Linked DNA regions of Homo sapiens: regions 1 and 2 are each linked to region 3. The links are contacts of gene promoters, found by promoter capture Hi-C in human tissues and cell types (Jung and others, 2019). All regions are on one chromosome and are shown on one strand. The core of a region is centred on a gene start or on the middle of the fragment in contact, and the rest is flanking DNA. Distances in the headings are between cores, read along the strand shown.

The links. Contacts are between HindIII fragments. The study calls those that stand out against the background at their distance.
Region 1: a fragment that was not itself captured here is called in contact with the fragment with the promoter of KIF3A in region 3 in 1 of the 25 tissues and cell types used here (mesenchymal stem cells).
Region 2: a contact is called between a fragment that was not itself captured here and the fragment with the promoter of KIF3A in region 3, in 1 of the 25 tissues and cell types used here (lymphoblastoid cells).

What each region holds. Positions count from the first base shown.
Region 1 is chr5:132,602,739-132,606,671 of GRCh38, reverse strand. RAD50 (RAD50 double strand break repair protein) reads right to left here. Exons shown (of 25, transcript NM_005732.4): 14 at 3,183-3,372; 15 at 2,626-2,752; 16 at 1,673-1,866. Among named protein-coding and RNA genes, the nearest start is that of RAD50, 48 kb to the right of the region's middle. The HindIII fragment of the contact is 3,550 bases long and covers 875-3,933 here.
Region 2 is chr5:132,580,745-132,584,736 of GRCh38, reverse strand. All of the region lies in intron 5 of RAD50 (RAD50 double strand break repair protein), which reads right to left. Among named protein-coding and RNA genes, the nearest start is that of RAD50, 26 kb to the right of the region's middle. The HindIII fragment of the contact is 3,914 bases long and covers 20-3,933 here.
Region 3 is chr5:132,735,655-132,739,476 of GRCh38, reverse strand. It overlaps KIF3A (kinesin family member 3A), which reads left to right and starts at 1,931. Exons shown (of 19, transcript NM_001300791.2): 1 at 1,931-2,063. The coding sequence starts at 2,058. RefSeq lists a silencer at 2,067-2,376 and an enhancer at 2,527-2,626. The HindIII fragment of the contact is 7,994 bases long and covers 1-3,459 here.

The DNA of each region.
Region 1 (3,933 bases), core at 1,400-3,899, 130 kb after region 3:
CTTTTTTTGTTGTGTCTCTGCTAGGTTTTGGTATCAGGATGATGCTGGCCTTATAAAATGAGTTAGGGAGGATTCCCTCTTTTTCTATTGTTAGGAATAGTTTCAGAAGGAATGGTACCAGCTCCTCTTTGTACCTCTGGTAGAATTCGGCTGTGAATCTGTCTGGTCCTGGACTTCTTTTGGTTGGCAGGCTATTAATTACTGCCTCAATTTCAGAACTTGTTGTTGGTCCATTTGGGGATTTGACTTCTTCCTGGATTAGACTTGGGAGGGTGTATGTATCCACGAATTTATCCATTTATTATTTTCTAGTTTATTTGCGTAGAGGTGTTTATAGTATTCTCTGATGGTAGTTTGTATTTCTGTGGGATGGGTGGTGATATCCCCTTTATCATTTTTTATTGCATCTATTTGATTCTTCTCTCTTTTCTTCTGTATTAGTCTTGCTAGTGGTCTATTTTGTTGATCTTTTTAAAAAACCAGTTCCTGGATTCATTGATTTTTTTGAAGGGTTTTTCGTGTATCTCCTTCAGTTCTGCTCTAATCTTAGTTATTTCTTGTCTTCTGCTGGCTTTTGAATTTGTTTGCTCTTGTTTCTCTAGTTCTTTTAATTTTGATGTTAAGGTGTTGAATTCAGTTATTTCCTGCTTTCTCTTGTGGGCATTTAGTGCTATAAATTTCCCTCTACACAGTGCTTTAAATGTGTCTCAGAGATTCTGGTACATTGTATCTTTGTTCTCACTGGTTTCAAAGAACATCTTTATTTCTGCCTTCATTTCGTTATTTAACCGGTAGTCATTCGGGAGCAGGTTGTTCAGTTTCCTTGTAGTTGTGCGGTTTTGAGTGAGTTTCTTAATCCTGAGTTCTAATTTGATTGCACTGTGGTCTGAGAGACTGTTTGTTATGATTTCTGTTCTTTTGCATTTGCTGAGAGTGTTTTACTTCCAATTATGTGGTCAATTTTAGAATAAGTGCGATGAGGTGCTGAGAGTTCTGGCCATTACACTAATAAAGAGCATTTCATATTAAAGAAACATGGGCTGGGTGAGGTGATGTAAGCCTGTAATTTTGGGAGGCCAAGGCTGCATTGCTTGAGGCCATGAGTTTGAGACCAGCCTGAACAACATAGTGAGACCCTGTCTCTAGAAAAATTTTAAAAATTAGCCAGGCGTGGTGGTGTGTGCCTGTAGTCCCATCTACTTGAGAGGCTGAGGCAGGAGGATTGCTTGAGCTCAGGAGGTCGAGGCTGCAGTGAGTGAGCTGTGACTGTACCACTGCATTCCAGCTTGGAAGACTGATGAAGACTCTGTCTCTAAAAGAGAAGAATGGGGCGGGGCATGCTGGCTCACGCCTGTAATCCCAGCACTTTGGGAGGCCAAGGTAGGCGGATCACCTTAGTTCAGGAGTTTGAAACCAGCTTGTCCAATGGCGAAAACCCGTCTCTACTAAAAGAACAAAAATTAGCCAGGCATGGTGGTGCACGCCTGTAATCCCAGCTACTCCAGAGGCTGAGGCAAGAGAATCACTTGAACCCAGGAGATGGAGGTTGCAGTGAGCCGAGATCGTGCTACTGCACTCCAGCCTGGGTGACAGAACGAGACTGTCTCAAAAAATAAAAATAAAAATAAATAATTAAAATAATTTTACAAAAAACATGTATGGATATTCTTACCTTTATCTCTCTGTACAAAGACTGAACTTCAGTGGATAATTCCACAGTCTGCTCCTCCAGTTGCTGACGACGTTGCAAATTAGTGGATATCTGAAGTTTCTCAGATTTTAGCTCATTTGTTGTACTTTTTAGATGTTGAATCTGTTCCTGCTGGTCCTGTATAAGCTTACGATTCAATTCAATCTTACTAGAAACTACACAAAAACATATTATCACAGTAATTAATGTAAGGGCATAGAAAATACTATTTGTATCATTCTTCCCATTTTTATCGGTCTATGGAATCCACAAATGCTATTTCTGTGGGCCCCACCCACTGCAACAAAAATACAATGAGAACCCTGCTAGTTCTCAAATCAGCTTGATGTTCCCTGCTGGCCACTCACAGGGAAAGCTTACAGGGCAGGTATGAATGAGAAAGAATACAGCTCATGGCCAGGCGCACTGGCTCACACTTGTAATCCCAGCACTTTGGGAGACTGAGGCAGGTGGATCACCTGAGGTCAGGAGTTCGAGATCAGCCTGACAAACACAGTGAAACCCCATCTCTACGAAAAAATACAAAAATTAGCTGGGCATAGTGATGTGTGCCTGTAACCCCAGCTACTCAGGAGGGTGAGGCAGGAGAATCACTTGAACCCGGGAGGCGGAGGTTGCAGTGAGCCAAGATTGCACCATTGCACTCCAGCCTGGGCGACAAAAGTGAAACTCTATCTTAAAAAAAAAAAAAAGGAAAAGAGAATACAGCTTATTTCATACTCTCCTACTGTTCAAAATCTGTTGTGCAAAGTAAGAGAACAAAGAGAAGTGATGCTTTTCAGAAAAAAAGAGCAAATATATGTGGACAGGAAGGAACTTCGTTGTCCATGTAACAGATATAAAATTGACTGTAAAAGGCATGTGCTCGCAATGTCAAAGTCTCTATGAGTACAGAAGGACACAGACTGTATTACCTGTGTCTAACTTGTGCTGTTTCTCTTGTTTCTCCTGGTTGACTTGTTGGACAGTTCGATCTAAGTCTATTCCTTGTAGCTTAGCTGCTTGTTGTGCAATTTTTCTTTCAACATCTTTAAGTTCCATCTTAAGAATATAACAAAATGATTTCCTTTAATAAACTTACTGCATTATTCAAAATCTTTAAAAATTAATTGCTCTTATCATTTATTTTTTAAATCTAAACTTATAAACCATTTCTAGATACAATTTTAGCAAAGTTTAATAGGATAAAAGTGAAATTAATTATCAGCAATTCAAATGATGTAAACAAAAGGAAGCTGACTAAAGATGAAAAACAAACAGAACTGTCTTAATTTTTAAATTTATGAATTAAAAAGTTTAAACCCAGGGATGTAAACTAAGCAGTTTCTCCCTGAGGGTATCTGAAATTCAGGATGGGGAATTCTAAACACAACCTGTACCTGAATACTAGCTACTATTTTTAACTCTCACACTTCAAATTCAAGCCACCATGGAACAAGTTTTATTCTGCCTTAAACTACAATAAACTTACCTGGAACCTCTCCATAATTGTAACATCTGTCAGGCATACTTTGGCACTTTCTTCTTCAGGCATTATTGTACCCAAGAGTGTTTCTTGTTCTTCTATGTCGTTCTTTAGGCGCTGTATGTCTCTATTGACATTCTGCAGTTTGTTTCTTAATTCTGGTATTTCCTTCTCCTTCAAATCAATTATGCTTTGCCTAAATAGAAAACACAATTAAAAATAAAGTATCTGATGTTTCTCACAGTTAGACTGAGGTTATGTATTTTTAGGAAGAATACCACAGAAGTGACATTGTGTTCTTTTCAGGGTATCATATCAGTGGATATGGAATCATGATATCAATATGTCTTATTACTGATGATGTTAATCCTTATTCACTTGGCTTAGATGGTGTTGGCCAGGTTTCTCCACTGTAAAGTTACTGTTTTAGTCTTTGTAATTAACAAGTATCTTAGGAGAGAAATGTTGAGACTATGTAAATATCTTGCTTCTCAACTTTCTGCCTACTGATTTTAGTATCCACTGACAGATCTTGCTTGCAATAATTATTACTGTGGTGTTTGTCAAACTGAGAAATATTCTACTAATGAACTGGTCATATTGACCAAAAGTGTTAAGGTCATGAAAGATAAAGACAGATTGTTACAGACTGCAGGAGCCTAAGGAGAAATAACAACTAGATGCTACGTGGGATCCTGCATGGAACCCTGAAACAGAAAAGGCATTGATGGAAAAACTGCTAAATTCGATATGGTCT
Region 2 (3,992 bases), core at 727-3,226, 150 kb after region 3:
TGCCATATTTTCTTAATCCAGTCTATCATCATTGGACATTTGGGTTGGTTCTAAGTCTTTGCTATTGTGAGTAGTGCTGCAATAAACATACATGTGCATGTGTCTTTATAGCAGCATGATTTATAATCCTTTGGGTATATACCCAGTAATGGGATGGCTGGGTCAAATGGTATTTCTATTTCTAGATCCTTGAGGAATCGCCACACTGACAAATGGGTTCTAATTAAACTAAAGAGCTTCTGCACAGCAAAAGAAACTACCATCAGAGTGAACAAGCAACCTACAGAATGGGAGAACATTTTTGCAATCAACTCATCTGACAAAGGGCTAATATCCAGAATCTACAAAGAACTCAAACAAATTTACAAGAAAAAAACAAACAACCCCATCAAAAAGTGGGTGAAGGATATGAACAGACACTTCTCAAAAGAAGAGATTTATGCAGACAACAGACACATGAAAAAATGCTCATCATCACTGGCCATCAGAGAAATGCAAATCAAAACCACAATGAGATATCATCTCACACCAGTTAGAATGGCGATCAATAAAAATCAGGAAACAACAGGTGCTGGAGAGGATGTGGAGAAAGAGGAACACTTTTACACTGTTGGAGGGACTGTAAACTAGTTCAACCAAAAACAACTTAATGTCCATCAGCCACAGAATGGATGAGGAAAAAAATTATAATACATGCATACAATGGAAGGAATGCTCCTCCACAATAAAAAGGAATGAATTGCCGGGCACAGTGGCTCACACCTGTAATCCCAGCACTTTGGGAGGCCGAGGTGGGCAGATCATCTGAGGTTGGGAGTTCGAGACCAGCCTGACCAACATGGAGAAACCCCGTCTCTACTAAAAATACAAAAAAAATTAGCTGGGTATGGTGGCACATGCCTGTAATCCCAGCTACTTGGGAGGCTGAGGTAGGAGAATTGCTTGAACCTGGGAGACGGAGGTTGCAGTGAGCCGAGATCATGCCATTGCACTCCAGCCTGGGCAATAAGAGTGAAACTCCGTCTCAAAAAAAAAAAAAAAAAAAAGGAATGAATTACTCACACATGCAGCAACATAGATAAATCCCAGACACAAAAGTCTGCATACTGTATGATTCTATATATGTGCCACTCTCTGGAAAAGGCAAAACTATAATGACAGAAAACAAATTAGTGGTTACTATGGATGGGAGCAGGGGAGAGGACTGACTGCAAGGACTTTGAGAGAACTTTTTGGAGTGACTGAAATATTCTACATCTTCATTTTAGTGATGGTTATGCTACTGTATGCATATGTCCTAACTCATAGAATTTATACTCTAAAAAGGGTGGATTTTACCATATATATATTATACCTTAATAAACTTGACTTAAAAAGAAAAAAAGGTATAAACTTAGGAATCAGAGGACTCAAATCCTACCTTTAACCCTTATTTCCACTGTGAATACCTGTACCTCAGTTTTCCTGCCTATACAACCTCACAGTTACTATGGAGTTTACATTATACATTTTAAAGCACTCGGGTTAGTGTTAGGCAGTAAACATTCAATTAATGAGACCATTTGCACCACTTGTGAAAAAAATTCTGTACTCAGAAAATACCTTTTGAGTAGAGTCTAACAAATATAACTGGATGGATACTTAAGAGCAATGAATACTAACAGCTCTACTATGATACTCTACAAAGTGCTCAGTTTCTTTCCATCAGTGTTTTCACTGCCTCTTGGTAGCACAAACATTATGATAATCATCTGGGCTTGGATCTTTCATGACATCTCTACCTGCTTCATTCCTTAAATCCAGCCAGTCACCAGATCCCCTGAATTCCTTCTTTGACATCTGTGTTTTGGTTCTAATCTCAGAGCACAAAACATAGGTTCTATCCCCAGAGTACACACCTAGTAAAAGGAGCTAGGACAAGCAGGCAGACAACAATAACAAAAACAGCCAAGGGTTTAAAGCTTAGGTGCCAGTGTGAAATGAGATAAAAAAAATAGAGCAGCTGGGCTATCAAGTATAGAAGGACCATGAACTTGTGTGCAGAAAAAAAAAGTTAGAAACATATTCCTCTAGCAATTCCCATTTAAGGCAAGAAAGGAAAACAGATCTAAGTAGGCCAAAAAAAGAGGACAGGATATGGTGGGATGGTAATAAAGTAGTTTATGAGAGAGTGAGAGTTCCCGAAGATAAAGGGAATCAGTAAAAATGGGAAAGGATGCATTCTAGTGCATGGTTGAAAGGACGTAGTCTTTTCTGGGAAGGTGATTTGACCCAAACTTTAATTGGGTTCTATGAAGGGAAGAATCTTCACATGTCAGAGCTAAAAAAAAGGACTTTGGAAGTCATCTACTTAATAAACATTTATTGAACCACCTGCTATGTGCCAGGCACTAGGCTAGGCTCTGAGGATACAGAGAAGAATATTAAACCCTTGGAGAATTACTCACAATTAAACACAAACAAGTAAATAAATACCTCAACCTCTGCTACAGCCTTGGTTAGAATCTTGGCACCACTCACTAAATCCTAGGTATTATCATTTAGCCCTACCTTGACATCATTTCCAATATAAATGCTTCATTTCAACAATATGGATTTCCTTGACAGTGTTCAAAGACAGCTTGGATTTTACTGTCTCTATGTCTCCAATGACTTACTCATTTATGATCAAAAAAGTCATGGCCAAATTCAGTCCTATGAAATCCTCTCTGGCTACCTCAGATAGAAATTCTCTTTCTTTATCCTCAGAGCTCCTACAGGTCTTGTTTTTTTCTCTGCCTTACCATTACATGTGCTTGTCATCTCTCCAACCAAGATGCTCCTCAAGAAAATAAAACGTGGAGTGGGGCAAGGGGGAAAGAAGAAAAAAAAAGGAAATCTGTTCTAATATCTTGGTAATTACCACGGGACCCACACAGAGTTATCAGGACAACTCATCCTAAAATATAACATAGTCTTCCACTCTTCTGTCTATTGAACTAAGTCTGAAATCCATTAGCTTTCTATAATCTGACCCCGATTCATATTGGTCATTTACTCCTTTTATATTGATTTACTTAACCCAGACTCTTCCTCTCATAATCCTGTTCTGATTAAGCTTGTAAAGGTAAATATGCACATACATACAAGTGAATGTTTGTATATACATATGTATTGTATATATGCAGTTAAAAAAAGTTGCAGGTAAAATATACTCTGGAAGGTTAGAGATGAGAAATGGAAGACTATCTTTTACTTTTCACCTAATATCCTTTTATAACTTTTTTACTAGGGGCACATATTACTTTTAAAAGAAAAGTCAAAATAAATACAAACATTTCCAGGTGCGGTGGCTCACGCCTGTAATCCCTGCACTTTGGGAGGCCGAGGCGGGCAGATCACTTGAGGTCGGGAGTTCGCGACCAGCCTGACCAACATGGAGAAACCCCGTCTCTACTAAAAATACAAAAAATTCTATTTTTTTTTTTTATTTAGCCGGGCGTGGTGGCTCATGCCTGTAATCCCAGCTACCCTGGAGGCTAAGTGGGAGAATTGCTTGAACCCGGGAGGCAGAGGTTGCAGTGAGCCGAGATCGTGCCACTGCACTCCAGCCTGGGCAACAAAAGTGAAACTCCATCTCAAAAATAAATAAATAAATAAATACAAACATGTATAAAATGTCTTCTAGTTTGCTGACTTGATTTCTTCCCATTCTTCAAGGCCCACCTCAGCCCTACCTCCTCCCAGAAGCCCTTGCAATATATTTCTATGCATGGCCATCATTAAAAATATATATATATTTTCTACTTCATGATTCAAAGATCTATACTGGTATTTACAGGTGAGTTTTTTAAAAACCAAATCAATAAATTTTTTAATGACTTTAAAAAATCTACTATCTAAAACATAGCAAATAGCCATTTTTAAGAATGCTCTTATTTAGACTAGGAATACCTTAAGGACAGGGGTGCAGTTGTAGTCCTCTTTGTACCCAAGCACAGTATACCCTGGTA
Region 3 (3,822 bases), core at 682-3,181:
AAAAAAACATGTTATAGCCATGCAATGGAATATTATTCAGCCATAAAAAGTAACAAATTGCTGATATATGCTATAATAGGGATACAGCTTGAAAACTTTGTAAGTGAAAGAAGTTACTCACAAAAGGCTGCATATTGTGTAATTTCATTTATATGAAATGTCCAGAATAGGCAAATCCACAGAGATAGAAAGTAGATTGGTGGGTTGTCTAGGTCTGGGATGTTGGGAGTGGGGTGGGAGGAGGGTTGCAGAGAGCAAGGGGGAGTGGCTTATGAGTACAGAATGTCTTTTTGGAATGATAAAAATGTTCTAGGTTATGGTTGCACAACTCCATATATAGTAAGAACTATTGACTTGTACAATTTAAATCGGTGATTGTATGGTATGGTGTGTAAATTATATCTCAGTAAAGCTTGTATGTGTGTATATATAAAATATTGAATGGTGATAGGTACTATGGAGAAATATAAAGTGGGGAGGGAAAAAAAGAAGAGTTTGGGCTGAAGGTTGAAATTTTAAATAAGGAAATCATGTTAGGGTTCACTGGGGTTATGTGAACAAAGACTTTCTGGAGGAGGTGAGTGGTCAGGTGGTTTTTTAGGGAAAGAGCTGTCTAGGCTGCCTGGGTTTGGACCTGGGCTCTGCCATTGTTTATATGTATGACCTTGGAAAAGTTATTTAATGGTCCTGTGCCTCAATTACTTTATCTGTAAAATAATAATAAATAGTATCTATTTCAAAAGGTTATTGTGTGGATTAAATGAATTAAAAAACGAAAGCATGTAGAACAGTACACTGGCACTATGTAAAATGCTTTATCTTTATTTCTATCAGTTCCTACTGCAAGCTCACAGCCCTTGCATGCTAAGATGGAAGCACGACGGGAATGTTGGATGAAGCAAGGAGGCCAGGTGGGGCTGGTGCAGAAGAAGCAAGAGGGAGGATTGTAGGGCTTGTGGCTTTAGCTTTGTAAGATGGGAAATCAATGGAGGGTTTTGAGCAGAGAAAAGAGAAGATCTGATTCATGTTTTAGCACCAGCACTCTGGCTCCTGTCCAGCACACTGAAAAGGGACAAGGACACACAATCAAGGAAACCAGTTCTGAGCGATTGTAGTAATGCACGTGAGAGACGATGGTGGTGGTAGAAGTGGCCAAATTCTGGTTCCACTACAAAGATAGATACAACAGGCTGTATTTAAAGATAGAATATTGTGTATGAAAGAGACTGCAATTTTGACCTGAGCAGTTGTCGGAATTAAGCTCCCACATATTGAGATGAAGAAAGTCTGAGAGGGATGAGAGAGAGCCCTTTTAAATTTTTTGATGGGGGTGGAGTGGGTAGTGGGGCGATTGATGGGGGATCAAGATTTCAATTCTGGACATGATTAACTTGAAATGCCCATTACACATTCAAGTGGACTAGAAAGAGGATGGACGGATCACTGGTTCTTTGACCAACACGTATAAAAATCCCACTCTGTGCCAGGCTCTGTGTGGGCTCTGGAGATAGATGTGAGAATACTAACAATCTCCTTAAGAGAGCTCACTTTCTAATGGTAAGACAGGTCATGAGGAAGTTAGCAATCAAGCGAGGTCAGGTAGGTAAGGTCTTCAATTCTTCGGATGAGACAAAATGTACAATTGCTATTACTGATTTTAATATTCCGGGTATTGCAAGGGCCAGAAGACGGGCCTAAGAGCAGCTCCTCCTCCCAACCCCGGGCTGCCAGGTTACCTCCGCCTCAGTGCGTGCCACATTTCTAGCGCAGCAGAATGGCAGCATTGCGCACGCGCGGCCTCAGTCTGGCGTCCTAGGAGATGGACTCGGAAAGCCTCCGCGCAGGCGTAATTCAAGGGCCGAGAGAGCCTGAGACTGGGCTTGGGGCGGGGCGAGCTCGGAATGCGGCTGCGCACTGGGCGCTCTCGCCCGAGAAGCCGCAGTCTCGAGAGCGTCAACGAGGTGTTTCGGTAGTCTCTGGCCATCCTTTCTGCGCACCCGGTGTCGCTGGGCTGCACCCCGGGCGGGGACGTCCGCCGGGCACGGGAGGGGGCCAAGATGCCGGTGAGGAGAGTCGCTTCGCTTCTGGGGTTTCTTCTCATCCTAGCGGCCTGGCCCGGGGGCGCGGCCGTTGCCATGGAGGCGCGGAGCCGGCAGGCGGCCTGGGTGGGGCGGGGCAGGCTCGGTCGTGCGGTGGAGGTGGTTGGAGAGCCTGGCTGGTCAGCCCCGGGGCCGCGGGGGTCCGGCCGGCCTCGACAGGGACCTGGGGTCAGGCCCTGCCGCCCTCGTCGCTGCTGCATCCCGTGGGGCCTGCGCCGCTTATCAAAAAGGCGCTGTGCTGGAGGATGCGCTCTGGCTCGCAGCCCTTCCTGCTGAGCGGGGCGTCTGGGGGTGGCCACGGTGGGGCTCTTTGGATGCTGCACACCTGGTGAGGCCTTTGCGCCTCGGAGCAAGCGCAGGGAGGCAGCGGAGCGAAGGCTGCCTGCCCCTATTCCAGGCCCCATACTCCGAGTCTCCTAGCCTTGAGCTGTCATTGCTCTTGTGGCGCTTTAGCTTATGATGCAGAATGAAACCCGTAGGTGTCTTTGTGTGTGTGGCGGTGTTATGTTTATCTTCCAGGATTTCACAGATTGTTATCGTGAACTTAATAATGGGGCCTTCTAAGACCCCTTATTAGGGGTCATGGAGGAAAATTGAGCCATGGCCGCTTATTTAGTGGTTGTGAGGCCTCGGATAATTATTTAATCTGTCTGGGTCCTTAGTTCCCATGTAAACTTTACCTCATGGGGTTGTTATCCGCGTGAAATAATACACAGGAGACTAGAAGGACAGTGCTTGACATTTAAGATTAAATGCTCTATATTTGTTCTGTTCACTGCTTTCAAGTTTTAATTCAGTAAATATTGGGCACCAACCACATGCTAGGCCCTGAAGATACAACATTGAGCAACACCAGTCAGGTTCTTGAACTTGGAAAGAGAGAGGCTTGCCTTCTTGGGCAGAGGTGAAAATCATACATATTTACAGACGTAAGACACAAAACCTTAATAATGAAGTGGGTGGGTATCCTACAATAGAGAGAAGTAGATTCTGGTGAATTGGAATGTATTGCCATGTAAGAATGATGGTCTGCAGATGATAACAGGTCATTTTTTTTCCTCCCAAGAAGAGACTTTAGAAATTATTTTTGTGAAATTTCTCAATTTTAGCAACTAATTCAAAAGCTCTTTAAATACTATGAACCAAACAAAAGAAATTTGTGGGCTGAATTCAGCCTCTTGACTACCTGTTTGCAACCTCTGGTGTAGACAGAAAGACATTAATCAAATAAGGAACAAGCAAAAGTAAAATTTGTGTCCAGGAAGGGGAGAGCAGGGTGCTCTCTGAGCCTATAAGAGTATTTGACCTAGTCAGGAAGTCTTCCCAGGTGAAGTGGCTGTTGAGTTCTGAAGGATAAGTAGATGTTAACTAAGTGAAGAGGGGATTGAAGATGGTTCTAGGTAGAAGGAACAGCACATGGAAAGGCCAGTGGTGAGGAGCATGGTGACAAGAAAAGGCCAAGCAGCTCAGTGTGGCTGTGGCATGGATGAGCCAGGCAGAATATCTTGTGAAATAAGCCCAGTGAAGCAGACGTGGGTGGAAGCCAGACCTTACAGACCACCTTAAGGATTCTGGTTTTTGTTCTGAGATCTATGGGAAACCACTGAAGAATTTTTAAGTAGGAGAGTGACATGATTAGATGTGTGTTGACACTGACTGCTATTTGGAGAATAGGCAGTAGGGCAATCTGATTAGATTCAGGAGTATAGTTAGGAGGCAGTAA